4 separate regions of the Homo sapiens genome follow, and regions 1, 2 and 4 are each linked to region 3. Evidence: promoter capture Hi-C in 16 types of primary human blood cells and fetal thymus (Javierre and others, 2016). All regions are on one chromosome and are shown on one strand. Each heading gives the region's core, a stretch centred on a gene start or on the middle of the fragment in contact. The rest is flanking DNA. Distances are from core to core; before and after follow the strand shown.

Evidence for each region. The method cuts DNA at HindIII sites, captures the fragments that hold promoters and counts their contacts. A CHiCAGO score of 5 or more calls a contact.
Region 1: the fragment with the promoter of VIPAS39 here is called in contact with a fragment that was not itself captured in region 3 in 1 of 17 cell types (total CD8 T cells); the score reaches 5.6 in total CD8 T cells.
Region 2: the fragment with the promoter of SNW1 here is called in contact with a fragment that was not itself captured in region 3 in 1 of 17 cell types (monocytes); the score reaches 5.8 in monocytes.
Region 4: a contact is called between the fragment with the promoter of POMT2 here and a fragment that was not itself captured in region 3, in 1 of 17 cell types (total CD8 T cells). The highest score is 5.7, in total CD8 T cells.

The regions. Positions count from the first base shown.
Region 1 is chr14:77,455,953-77,459,555 of GRCh38, reverse strand. It overlaps VIPAS39 (VPS33B interacting protein, apical-basolateral polarity regulator, spe-39 homolog), which reads left to right and starts at 1,955. Exons shown (of 20, transcript NM_001193315.2): 1 at 1,955-2,061. AHSA1 (activator of HSP90 ATPase activity 1) reads right to left here and starts at 1,463. Exons shown (of 9, transcript NM_012111.3): 1 at 1,287-1,463. The coding sequence starts at 1,366. RefSeq lists enhancers at 1,207-1,386, 1,112-1,634, 1,557-2,016, 1,635-2,157. The HindIII fragment of the contact is 4,049 bases long and covers 1-3,603 here.
Region 2 is chr14:77,759,284-77,762,656 of GRCh38, reverse strand. SNW1 (SNW domain containing 1) reads left to right here and starts at 1,501. Exons shown (of 14, transcript NM_012245.3): 1 at 1,501-1,543. The coding sequence starts at 1,530. SLIRP-OT1 (SLIRP overlapping transcript 1) reads right to left here and starts at 1,889. Exons shown (of 2, transcript NR_161324.1): 1 at 1,541-1,889. RefSeq lists enhancers at 1-762, 1,310-1,629, 1,537-2,311. The HindIII fragment of the contact is 7,128 bases long and covers 1,183-3,373 here.
Region 3 is chr14:73,054,597-73,058,015 of GRCh38, reverse strand. It overlaps RBM25-AS1 (RBM25 antisense RNA 1), which reads left to right. Exons shown (of 2, transcript NR_184256.1): 2 at 1-1,186. Among named protein-coding and RNA genes, the nearest start is that of RBM25, 2.2 kb to the left of the region's middle. RefSeq lists enhancers at 1-169, 1-205. The HindIII fragment of the contact is 2,809 bases long and covers 1-2,742 here.
Region 4 is chr14:77,318,926-77,322,132 of GRCh38, reverse strand. It overlaps POMT2 (protein O-mannosyltransferase 2), which reads left to right and starts at 1,250. Exons shown (of 21, transcript NM_013382.7): 1 at 1,250-1,699. The coding sequence starts at 1,452. It overlaps GSTZ1 (glutathione S-transferase zeta 1), which reads right to left and starts at 1,097. Exons shown (of 9, transcript NM_145870.3): 1 at 950-1,097. The coding sequence starts at 964. RefSeq lists enhancers at 434-483, 15-876, 754-1,023 and silencers at 1,104-1,483, 1,714-1,763. The HindIII fragment of the contact is 6,086 bases long and covers 1-2,515 here.

The sequences.
Region 1 (3,603 bases), core at 706-3,205, 4.4 Mb before region 3:
AAGAGAATACGAGGTTAAAGGAGGCCTGACAAATAGTTTGAAAAGAACACAAAAACTCCCAGTCGCACTCCAGTATGTCCACAAACATGTCATTCTTTTTTAGGAAGACAAGGGGTTGCACACTGTCAACAAAGACAGCTGCTGTAGAAAATGGTATAAACTCAATGGAAAATTATGCTCTCCTTTCTCGGCATGATGGTGCGGGGGAATACTTGATACTTTAACATGGCGCCCCCATTTGACCAAGTGGAAAACTGCACATATTGCTGAGATCAGGAACACAGACTGGACCATGAAAGAATAGTACTTAGCTAAAAGGCCCAGAAAGGATTAAACCAATAACCCTGACCTCATTGGCACGGTGTTCTGACCTATCAGATTCGCACTTGCATTATAAACTTCCTACACATTCACTGTCCCCTAGATGGCCACAAAAACGTTAAGTCCAGGGCTTCAAAACAAACAACAAAAATTAGGTCAAGTACTCTGCATGTTAAGAAGAGAGAATACAAAGTGAGATATGGAAAAGAAACATCACTATCTGCCTTCCTACTTATCAACTATTAGAGAAAACAACAGCAAAAAAGGCTGCAACAAAGTAACGGTACAATACAAACATTACGAAAAAAGTTCAGTGGAATTCAAAAATAAGGAAACTAATATTACTTTGGGAAGATTTCATGAAGGAGGGCAGTTATTTTAAGAACGGTCAGGTTATAAAACCACGGCTGCTCGGCAACCTGGAGTTCCAACACACCCGACCTGATAGTTCCGGGTGAGAGGCCGCAGCTATCTGAGCTCTGAGCACCTGCACAACACGTTCTCAATCTCCCGCGGGACCGCTGCAGCGGTCCCCTATGAATGACTTTTAATTTTACCGCAGGCCGCAAAATAGGAATTACAGACCCCTGGCCTTAGGCCTTTCACAGCTATCTCCCAACACAATCAAAGGAGGTTCCAGTCTCAGTGACTCCTCTGGCCACGTGTAATAAGCACCTCCCTGCTCGGGCTGGATGCAGCAGCCAGGGCGTTATCTCCTAGTCTCTCTGACAACCCTCCTCTGGGGCGCAGCCCTCCACGTCCATCTCCCTCCCCTCAAACACTGAGAAGGTGACCGCGGAGTGGAGAGGCCTGGGGCTACGGACCCCTGCCACAGGAAGGACCCACCCCCATCTCCGGACAGGGCTACCTCAGCCCCAGCTCTGTCCGGGCCGAGGTTCTAGGAACCCTGAAACCCTGGCCCGGCCGCAGGTCTCCCAAGGCCGGCCTGCTTTTCTGGCCCTCACCAGTGCCAGTTGTTGACGTTGGTGGCGTCCGCCCGCTCCTCCACGATCCAGCGTGGGTCTCCCTCACCCCACTTGGCCATCGGCTCTCCTATCGCGGCGCCACCAGCTCCGGAGCAGCCGTAGCCACAGCCTCAGGACCGCTTAGTGCCAGCCGCCCGGCAGCGCCTGGAAACTACTAGAAGCGGCCGCAAGCACCTCCTGGCTTGCTTTTCCCTCCACCCCCTCCCCTCCTTAACTTCCGGCTCCTCCCCACTCCCACCGGTTACTTCCGTCCCAACTCGCCGCACCGTGGGTTCCGCCTGATTTAGAGATCCTTCAGACTCCATCGGGTTCTCCCCAAAAAGCGTCCCGAAACCCAACTGCTCATACAACCATTCCTCACCCATAGGAAAACAAAGAACACGTCTCATTGCTTCCCTGGACCCTAAATCGCCCTTGCTGAGCCTCATGGGAATTGTAGTCTTGCTACGTGACTCGCTGGATAACCGCGGAAGGTCTCGCGGAAAGGAGAGGAAATGACCTAGCACGGTGCTTGGGGTTTCTGGGGGCTGTAGTCAAGAAGCCTTGTGGTTCGTCGGGACAGCGCCTGACAGCAGAGGCAGAAGAAACTACGACTTCCAGCATGCCCTGCGGTCTCGTTATTCGTGTTTTCTCTCCGCCCTACGATTATTCCCTTCCGCCCCCTTCTCTAAGCTGCACAGCCTGAATAGAAGGGCTGGTCCAGCGGCGGCGGAGGCTGGCGCTGTCCTGAGAGGGAGGGCTCTGTGCGGAAGAGGTGAGGGTGTCCCAAGCCCCTTGGGTCGCGTATCTGGCTGGATCCAGCCTCTCCGCATCTTGATCTTTTCCCCTCTTCTAGGAGGCATCCCTACACCCTATGACTACAGGCCTGATTCTCTTCTTTCAGTCAGGGCGACCCTTGGGCGCTGGAGTACGCTTGGGACTGGGGCTGCGAGTGAGCACCAGCGATTGGTTCGGAAGCGGACATTTGGTTCAGAACGAGCATTTAACTCTGCCAGGGATCCGCTGGGCTCTGACGACTGCGGTAGATCCATGGCTTCCTGGACGTTCACCCGTAGAGTCATCCTAGCTTAACTCTTGTTCCCTGGTCTCAGTTCACAAGCCTCACCTGTATCTTCCTGGCTCGGAAGATAATTGAAACCAAGTCTGACTTCTCAGTAGGTGGTTTTTGGAGTTTTCTGAGGCAGGGAGCATGTTGTGGTTTTCTTGCTGATTCTTCTGTTTTCCTTTGTAAAGTTCCTGTTCTCCCCTGAGGTCTCTCACCCTGCCTTGTGGGCTGTCAGTAAACAAGAGACGATAAAGACAAACCTCTGAAGTATTTTAAATCATGTTGAAGCACCTGTCACTCTTAAGAGTGACAATCGTACCTGATTACTTTATAACTCTAGAGCCACTAGATCATTATCTATACTTGCCAAGTAAACCTAGCTTCTCATTTGGCGTTATAAATACAAATTGATGGCAGTTGTCTACTGCCATTGCATGGTTAAAAAGATTCCAGAAATCCTCTGGTAGATTATTGTGTTTGTTAGACACATTCTATGTCTATCTGTAGATAATTACTATAGTGAAGGAATGATCTCTAGTTTTCTGGAAAGTGAAAAATAGGTAGAAGGACCATGCAAGACACTAGAAATGGTCTAGGAGCCAGAAAGCCTGGATTGTAATTTGAAATAGGAGCATTTAACAAAGTGGCTTTGATACTGAACTCTTTTGTGCCTCACTTTCCCCATGAGTAACATGGAAATGGAATCTCCCAGGCCTACCTTACAAGATTGTTCTGAGGATCAAACGAATGACAGAGTGATTTATGAACTGACATGTGTGCCAGAGACATTTATATGTTCTATACACATCTTCAGCATTTGTGGCTACTCAGAATTTTTGTATTTTTTTTAATCTTTAGGATTGCTAAAAAATATTTTCTTTTTTAGCTTTTCCCAAGGTACCAGGATGATGTATTAATAATAAAAGTTACTATTGAGTGTTAATTTTGGGTCAGGCACTAAGCACTTTACATGTATTAACTGGTTTACTCCTCAGAACCATTTCTAAGGTAGGTCATCTGTTATGCCCATTTAACAGACGGGAAAACCAAGACAGAAAAATGTCAGTATGATATTCCATATTAAAAGGAAATAACATTTAGTATTTACTTTCTGCTAGACACTTTTATAGATGTTCCCTGCAACCCTGTGAGATAGGATATAATTTTCTCCAAGGCTTAGAAGTAAAGTCATTTATCCACTTTGCTCAGAATTAAGAGAAACCAGGATTTGAACTCAAGGTTGCCTGACTA
Region 2 (3,373 bases), core at 252-2,751, 4.7 Mb before region 3:
CTGTGGCAGGCAGAATTCTAGGATATCCCCCAAGATCTCCTCCTCACCCAACCCCCACAGTACCTGACCTACATAACCCCTGGGGCCATGACTATGAAGATTCTGATTCTGTTATGCGGTGTGGCAGAGTTGATTTTTTTTTTTTTTTTGAGACAGAATTTTACTTTGTCACCCACGCTGGAGTGCAATGGTGCAATCTCGGCTCACTGCAACCTCCACCTCCTGGGTTCAAGCGATTCTTGTACCTCAGCCTCCCAAGTAGCTGAGAAAACAAGAGCACATCACCACACCCAGCTATTCTTTTATATTATTTATTTATTTATTTATTTATTTATTTTTATTTTTTGAGACGCAGTCTCACTCTGTCGCCAGGCTGGAGTGCAGTGGCGTGATCTTGGCTCACTGCAACCTCCGTCTCCTGATTCACACGATTCTCCTGCCTCAGCCTCCCCAGTAGCTAGGACTACAGGAGCGCGCCACAACGCCCAGCTAATTTTTGTATTTTTAGTAGAGACAGGGTTTCACCATGTTGCCCAGGCTTTGTCGAACTCCTGAGCTCAGGCAATCCGCCCGCCCCGACCTCCCAAAGTGCTAGGATTACAAGTGTGAGCTACTGCGCCCGGCCAAGAGTTGATCTTAAAATAGGGAGATTATCCAGGTGCTCCTGATCTAATCACATGAGCCCTTTAAAAGCAGGGCATTTTTCTCCAACAGTGGCAGAAGAGGAGTCAGAAAGATGTGCCTCAGAAAGCAAATATCCATGTTGTGAACTACCAATAAATAGGGCTCATGTGGGAAGGACTCGAGAGTGACCCCTAGGAGCTGAGGGTGGCCACCACTAACAGCACAAAACAAAACAGGGAACTCGATCCCACAACCGCCAGGAACTGATTTTTGCCAACAAGAATGAGTTAGGAGATGGATTTTTCTCCAGAGCCTCCTATGAGATTTCAGCCTTGTCATACCCTGGGCAGAGAACCCAGACACTCGGTAAATTACCAAGGATTACGAAATATCTCCCCAAGAGAGTGTTTTGGCGGGTGAGAGGATATGGTTTAAAGAAAAGTTTTGAGTGTGAATGTTTTCAGAGAGTCCAAGGACTCTCCATTAGCTAGTCTCATTATTACCTGTCGTTTTAAACGCCCTATCACTCTTACTTAAAGTAGCTGTCCCCGGGAAGCTTTTGTATTTTGTACCCCTTCTCGGGGAACGGGACTGAGTAAGGAACGTAATAAAGCGGCCTAAAAGGCATCTCCCTGTATCTTTGATATTTTGCCTAGGGAACGCCCTATCATGTCGCATATAAGCGATCGAGTTATGCATTTGTTGCTAGCTGAAGAGATTATTCCTTGATAACCGCTTGGTCTGGTCAGAATACAAACGGTACTCCTGTTCAAAGAACTACAAATCCCAGAAGGCCTTTTCGGCCAGAGCGCCTGCGCATCGCGCACTCCTTCCTTTCCGCTCCTCATCATCTGGAAAGACCCGCCCAGCGGTGCTGTCGCTCGCGCTGGAAGAAGCGGAAGAAGATGGCGCTCACCAGGTGGGTTGTTGATTGGGGTCCTCGATACGGAAGGGTCTGGGAGTACCAGTCTTCTTCATTTCTCTTCCCATACCCTCCGGGCGGTGACCTGACCCGGGGCACAGAATGACGTGGGCCAAGACTACGGCTACGCCCTCCCGCTGGCCGCCGCTACGACTAGGCCTAGTCGAAGCTGGGGTCTTTCAGCGGTTTCCCGGGTTTAGTTCACCCGCTCACCGAGGCCGAAAGCTGCGGAGTGGTCTCAGACACTGAAGAGTGGGTTTTTCGCGTGAGCATCTTGCGGGGAGCGGACAGCGCTCCCTCAGGTCCGCGGCTCGGGCGAACGAGATGGGGTTGGTGACGGTAGTGGCTTATTTGGGCGGAGTGAAGCGCGCGGGCTGCGACTGCGCGGCTTTCCGGCCGTTTGCCTGTGGTGGTCTCTCTCCTTTCGCTGTCCACTGGGTGTCCCGAAACAAGGATTCCTGAAAAAAGAGGCCCGGAGCTGAACACAGATTTAAATGAGCCACAGTAGTGACCGCCGTCTGCTGATATGCGCCACTGCTCCGCATTTTAACTTTGGAGCTTAGAATTTCTTCCGTAGATAGAACCACCTCAGTTTTGCTGTTTCCGGTTACCTTAGTAACCGTCTGTAAAGTGCTCTCCGCCTTTAAGAAAAAGATGCTTTTCAGTGGGAGAGTCCGAGAAGTTACGCTACTCCTACTAGTTCCCAGCCTTGCTGCCCCATTTTAAGTGGAAAAACTTTCCATGCGAACTCAACAGGAAAAGGCTAGTGTTCAGGAAGGTTATAGATAAAGTAATCCTTTCAGGACATCAGCTTGAGCTCTTTTAACACCCTTCATTCTCCTCACGCATGTTTTTTTTTCTGGCTGATGACAGTATGACTCCAAAAGTTTTAATCAAAAAATTATTTTGGGAATTACTGTTGGTGCCTTGCTCTGTCCTGGGGGTTGTGTACACAGAAGAAAATCTGTCTTTGGCAACAGGGAAGATAGGGGTGCAAGGTATACAGACATAAAACAATTACAGAACACAAAATGTGCATTTGTGTAATACTAACCTTAGTGCAAAAAGAATTGAATGGAATAAGTTATGTGGGCTGGAGAGTTTTCTCCCCACCCTCGTTTCTAAAATTTTTTTGCTTTTTTTTTTAACTTTATTTTTTGAGATGCGGTCTCGCTGTGTTGGCCAGGTTGGTCTTGAATTCTTGGCCTCAAGCAGTCCTCCTGTCTCGGCCTCCGAAAGTGCTAGGATTACAGGCATGAGCCACCATGCCCGGCATCTGAAATTTTTTTAAAAAAAAACTAGAAATAGGGTGTTACTGCGTTGGCCAGAGTGGTCTCCAACTCTTGGCCTCCATCAATCTTCTCACCTAGGCCTCCCAAAGTGCTGGGATTGCAGGCATGAGCTACCATGCCCAGCCAAGAGTTTGTTTAGTAAATGTTACAGGCAGCAAACATTTGAGTGCTCCCCAGGTGTGAGACACTGTGTCATAGACTAGTAAAGTTATGAGGGGAGACTTTGTGGAAAAGGTGGAATTTGAAATGGACACACAGGAAAAATTTCTAGAGATGTCATGGGTATTTTTTATTTATTTTATTTTTTGATATAGGGTCTCACTCTTGCCCAGGCTGGAGTGCAGTGGCCCAATCACAGCCCACTGCAGCCTCAACCTCCCAAGGCTCAGGTGATCCTCCTGCCTCAGCGCCCTAGAGTAGCTGGGACTCTAGACGCTTGCCATGATGCCCAGTTAATTTTTGTTTTTTTTAGTAGAGATGGGGTTTTGCCATGTTGCCCAGCCTGGTCTTGAACTGGGCTTAACTGATCTGATCT
Region 3 (3,419 bases), core at 89-2,588:
ACTAGTTAACACAGCTTTCGTTCTGTAATCTAAACGTGCTAAAAGAACTTAGCTTAAGTTAATGGAAATGAATAAAATTAATCATAAATGATTACGTTATTCCAATTGTGGACCTTATAGGCAATATCTAGTTACACGCCTTTCTCAACTGCTTGCCTCTAGGAAGGCATAAAACGGATTCAGTATAAAGTTATTGCCTCCCTGAGTTCCTGGTGCTGTGTTAAGTGCTGGAAGTATGAAGGCAAATGGAAGTGAGATTTGTTCCTGTCCTGCAAGAACTGTGAGCCAGGTGAAATAGATGACAAACCATGACCAGCCTAATATAAAATTGAAACATACTACACACTTCCTGCCTGCCTCCCCTACTTAATTTTACTCTAAAGCACTCATAACCATCTATCATAACATACATTTTTCTTGCTGATTTTATGGTCCGTCACTACCCCCACTAGAATGTGAATGTAAGCAATGCATGGATTGCCTGTTTTGTGCAAGAACAGGTCCTGGTACATAGCAAGCGCTCAATAAATATTTGTTGAGTGACAGAAATGATTACCGGCCGGGCGCGGTGGCTCACGCCTGTAACCCCAGCACTTTGGGAGGCCGAGGCGGGTGGATCACCTGAGGTTAGGAGTTCGAGGCCACCCTGGCCAACATGGCAAAACCCCGTCTCTACTGAAAATACAAAAATAAACTAGGCGTGGTGGCAGGCGCCTGTAATCCCAGCTACTCGGGAGGCTGAGGCAGGAGAATCGCTTGAACCCTGGAGGCGGAGGTTGCAGTGAGCCGAGATGGCACCACTGCACTCCAGCCTGGGCAACAAAGTGAGACATTGTCTCAAAAAAAAAGAAAAGAAAAGAAAAGAAATGATTAACATATGATGAGTACCAATAGAACACAAAATTTAGTGGGAGCACAAATGAGAAAGTAGCACTAATTACTACCATCTGCAAAATTTACATCCTTCTATACTTCTGCTTGCTAGGTTTCCTTACCATTAACTAAAGTTAATAATACCTTTGGCCGTGCGTGATGACGAGTGCTTGTAGTCCCAGTTACTTGGGAGACGAAATTAACTTATGTATGTTTGTACTTTGTTCAGTAAAGTGCTATTCAAATTTATAGTTTTTATAGTGCTACTCTATAATGCTATTTATTGTTTGTAAATAAAATGAGTTTCTTTTTTTGTTTTGTTTTGTTTTTGTTTTTTGAGGAGGTGTCTCTGTTTCCCAGGCTAGAGTGCAGTGACGTGATCTTGGCTCACTGCAATCTCTGCCTCCCAGTTCAAGCGATTCTTGTGCCTCAGCCTCCCCAGTAGCTGGGATTATAGGCGTGGGTCACCATACCTGGCTAACTTTTGTATTTTTAGTAGAGATGGGGTTTCACCATGTTGGCCAGGTTGATCTCCAACTCCTGACCTCAGGTAATCCGCCCACCTGGACCTCCCAAAGTGCTGGGATCAAAGCTGTGAGCCACCATGGCCGCCCAAGAGTTTGTGCCTATTTACAACAAAAGGCATAAACAGAAATCTCAGATTAATCTGTGTCCCTTTTTATTATTAGAAACATTGTACATGAATTTGTGTTTACTGTGTAATAAAGGGAGCCCTCAGGCAACAATTTGCTAACTTTCCTACCTTAGACAATTTGTTGCTGATGTTCATGCAGCATCCATTCCCCTTGCCTTTAGTAATGAACCCTCCACATTTTTTAAAAGAAACCATCTTGGCCGGGTGCGGTGGCTCACGCCTGTAATCCCAGCACTTTGGGAGGCCGAGGCAGGCAGATCACGAGGTCAAGAGATCAAGACCAGCCTGACCAACATGGTGAAACCCCGCCTCTACTAAAAATACAAAAATTAGCTGGGCTTGGTGATGTGTGCCTGTAGTCCCAGTTACTTGGGAGGCCAAGGCAGGAGAATCGCTTGAACCTGGGAGGCAGAGGTTGCAGTGAGGCGAGATTGCGCCACTGCACTCCAGCCTGGGCAACAGAGCAAGACTCTGTCTAAAAAAAGCCAGGTGCAGTGGCTCACACCTGTAATCCCAGCACTTCAGGAGGCCGAGGCGGGTGGATCACCTGAGGTCAGGAGTTCGAGACCAGCCTGGCCAACATGGCGAAACCCTGTCTCTACTAAAAATAACAAAAATTAGCTGGGCGTGGTGGCAGGCACCTGTAATCCCAGCAGCTCAGGAGGCTGAGGCAGGAAAATCGCTTGAACCCAGCAGGCAGAGGTTGCAGTGAGCCGAGATCGCGCCATTGCACTCCAGCCTGGACAACAAGAGCAAAACTCGGTCTAAAAAAAAAAAAAAGAAAAGAAACCATCCTTCCACTACTCCAGATCCATGTACTTTGGATAGGAAGTCCCAACTCTAACCAGACCCCCTTAGGACACAGGAGTAAACTTACAACCTAATCAAAACCTGATGATTTAGTCACCCCTCCCTTTTTTTTTTTTTTTTTTTTTTGGTACTAGCCACTGTTTAAAGCATTTTGCAAATATCAACTCCTTTAATCCTCATAACAACCCCCTGAAGTAAGAACTATTGTGATACAAATGAAGAAACCAAGGCTTGCAAAAATTAACCTATCAAAGGCTACAAAAATAGTAAGTGAGCCAGTCTGGTTCCTGAGTTCGTGCTCTGGAACATTATACTGCTTCATCCTTTCAGGAATAATCCTAAAAAGAAGGGGAGGGGTCTCTATATTTTTCATTTAAATTGATTTTTTTTTTTCAATTTAAGCTTAGGAGGATTTAAGCTTAGAATAGATGGGGATGAGAATGAAATCACAGAAGAAAGCAGAAGTAAGACAGGGTGAGAGATTTTTGACAATATCAGTTGAGAAAATGGTTCATTCATTCATTTTGTTTGTTTTTTGGTTTGTTATTGCTGTTGTTATTTGAGATAGGGTCTCCCTTTGTTGTCCCGGCTAGAGTGCAGTGGCATGATCACGGCTCACTGCAGCCTCAACTTTCCAGGCTCCAGCGATTCTCCCACCTCAGCCTCCCAAAAGCCAGGATTACACTGAGCCCGGCTGGCTCAGCTACTCCTAAAGCCAGCTGTTCTAGGCTTATCAGTATGTAACCCAATACATTACTTTTCCGAAATCAGTTTGAGTTGAGTTTTCTATTCCTTACACAGAAAGAACTCTAAATGATACACTTATATACCACTTGTAGAGAACAAGCCAAGCCATTCATTTGCGATGCCAGTTATCCTCCTTCTATTTTTTTCTTACAAATCCTTGCTAAGGAAACTGTAGATAATTAATTTGGATATTACATTCTGTGTGCATTTGGACACCATTCTTTTTTTTTTCTTTTTTTTTTTTTTGAGATGGAGTTTTGTTCTCATTGCCCAGGCTGGAATGCAATGGCATGATCTCGGCTCACCGCAACTTCCGCCTCCCAGGTTCAAGCGA
Region 4 (3,207 bases), core at 1-2,500, 4.3 Mb before region 3:
TAACGTGACGCAAAGTCCCATCTAACGTGCCACCTTCCTTAGTGCCACAAAAGTGGTTCTCAAACTTCATGGCACGTTAAGAACCATCTAGACCGCTTATAAAAACATGCAGATTCTCGAGCCCGTTCCACCAGAGATGAACAGAGTGGCTCTGGAGCAGGCCCCGGGAAGAACATGTGAAAGCCGTGAAGCTCCCCAGGTGATTGTCATGACTGCCTCTCCTCGCTCGGGGCCTTTTTTTTTTTTTTTTGAGCCGGAGTCCCGCTCTTTCGCCCAGGCTGGAGTGCAGTGGCGCGATCTCGGCTCACTGCAAGCTCCGCCTCCTGGGTTCACGCTATTCTCCTGCCTCAGCCTCCCGAGTAGCTGGGACTACAGGCGCCCGCTACCACGCCTGGCTAATTTTTTTGTATTTTAATAGAGACAGGGTTTCATCGTGTTAGCCAGGATGGTCTCTATCTCCTGACCTTGTGATCCGCCCGCCTCGGCCTCCCAAAGTGCTGGGATTACAGGCGTGAGCCACCGCGCCCGGCCCGGGGACTCTTAAAATACAAACATTACTGGAAGGTCACCTCCTGCTAGGGCCAAGAGAAGAGCATGAAGGGCTGCGAGAAATTGGGAGGCTTGGGGCGACGTTTGGAAGCCTTAGTGGAGGGAGGGGTCTGTTATGGGGAGCAGGGAGGGCGGAGCAGAAGTGAAGCGCGACCGGACAGCGACTCCACCCTGCTACGCACTCCCTACCAGGACCGCCTCCTCTGGCCCAACCCTCCCGGAACTTCGAGCCCCAGCGGGCAGCGCGCAGCACGCAGGCGCAGAGCGTGCCCGGCGCAAAGCACTGCATGCCGGGAGTCGTTGTCGGCCTGGGCGGGCGGTGCAGCTCACTTCTGACCCCGCCCCCCAGGGTCTCCAGGTGTCTAACCAGCTTCCCTCCACCCGGGTGCGCGTCACAGACCTTCCCCGCCTGCATCTGGCACTTCGCGCGACCCCCTCCTCCAGGCCGAGAAACTTCGCGCCTGGGACCTGCCGACGACTAAGGCTCAGTGAGACTCGACGAATCAGGCCCGTGTCTTTCGTCCGGGTAAAGCGAGGGGCTGGACTAGAAAGATCCTTCCGGTCGCCTCTGGCTCGCCCAGCTCTCCCGCCACGCCCCGTACCTGGGGGCTGCTGGGAGTTGCAGTTCCCTGAGCCCGACCCCTCCTGCCCAGTCCCCCCCGCCCCGGGCCGGCCGGCCCTCCCGGTCCCGACATGCTCTGCGCCTCCTGCCGCCTCCTAGCGGCCCGGGCCGCGACCACGCTGCCCGCCCCGCCCCGAGCCCGGGGCCCCGCGCTCCGCTGCAGTGAAGGGCGTTGCATTTCCCGGGGTACCCCGAGCTGCCCTCTTGTGACTCCTTGGCGGGGCGGCTGGTCAGACAAAGTGTGCCTCCGGGCCGGAGGGCGACCCAGAGGAGGGGGAAGATGCCGCCGGCCACGGGCGGAGGCCTGGCAGAGTCCGAGCTGCGTCCCCGGAGGGGCCGCTGTGGCCCCCAGGCTGCTAGGGCCGCAGGCCGGGACGTGGCCGCTGAGGCTGTGGCGCGAAGCCCCAAACGGCCTGCTTGGGGCTCACGGCGCTTCGAGGCGGTCGGCTGGTGGGCCCTGCTGGCCTTGGTGACGCTGCTGTCCTTCGCCACCCGCTTCCACCGCTTGGACGAGCCGCCGCACATCTGGTGAGTGATGGGAGGGACTCGGCGGGCACCATGGCAACCGCGACGGGACGCCGCCCTCTGATTGGCCCGAGGGTACGGAGGGGGCGGGATCTATAGGAGGAGGGCCACGGTGGAGGGGAACTTGAGGTATCGGGTGGGTTGGCCTCTGGCGAGGTGCATTCTCTGGGAGGGGGATCGTTTTGCTCTGGTGGTGGGGCAGTGGGATTCTTAGTATCTGAGGAAGCAGCCCTCATGTCTTCCAGGTTATGCTACAGTGCATCACCTGGCTTGCAAATTGTGGCTTTTAAAGGTGCTTTCAACTTTCCAAAGAGAATTGCAAATTTTTGGGTACAGAATTTTCTAAGGCCTGAGTTCCTATGTCTGCAGGATTTTCAGGCATCAACAGAGGAGAAAATACCTAACTGTGTACCTTTATCCTATAGGGCAAGGACAGTTTGGGTGTTCAGGTATGGTGACCAAAGGATTTTATGAGGCAGAACTCTTCTTGTGAGAAGAGATTTATTTTCTTAAAGGTTTTAGCTTGTACTATCCAGATACTGGGTGTCAGAAATGGAATTCTTTAAGCAAAAAGCAGGCAAGAAAACAGACTGTCAGGGTTGCTTTATTTAGAAATTAATAAATTAGCTTGTTATTGTGTCGTGACTGCTGGCAGAAGATGAGACTCCTGGGTTAGAGACAAAGGACTTTATTACAGGAAATAGGATGCATGTTAGAAGCAGTTTCCCTTGCCATCCAAGTCCCACAGGGTGACGCTATGGGTTTAAATGGATGACTGCACAGGCAGTGGGTTGCATCCAAGTGAAGGAACGACAAGCTTGGAAAATCTGCTGTTTTATAGAAGGCAGTACGCAGACCTCCTCTTTGTCCTGGAGGGAGACACTGCCTCTTCTCTCAAAGTTGCTTGCTGCAAACACAACCATGAGAAATGGCCCAGGTGAGATGCAGTCAGGGCCTTGCATTCTTGGTATACCCAGAATGATGTGTAGAGGCACGAGCAATCTGACAGCCTCTCTCACTCCTCGATTCTATGGTCTTGGCTTCTAGCAGATTTTCACATGAATATACAACTCCCCTGGCTACTCACATCTTTTCAGTTTGTCCCTTACAGCATTTAATTAAGGTTGTTGTCAATGGGACTCTAAGCAGCAGAATAAGGCCAGCTTACAGTATTTACCTCAACCATGCCCTCCAGGGTCCTGGATTCAGCCACTTGTGAATAAGTCCTGGGGGCACCGAGGAATCTTATTTCAGACATCTGGGCTGCAGTCTAAGACCAGTCTATTAACCACTGTGACCTGTGCACAGGGGTTCAGATTGATCTCTGATCTTTGGTGTCATTACCAGTAATTACAATAGCCCACTACCCTTGTAAAAATTTTTTTAAGAAAGTAATTACCAGGCTGGGCGCAGTGGCTCACACCTGTAATCCCGGCAGTTTGGGAGGCCGAGGCGGGCAGATCACCTGAGGTCAGGAGTTCGAGACCAACCTGGCCAACATGGTGAAACTC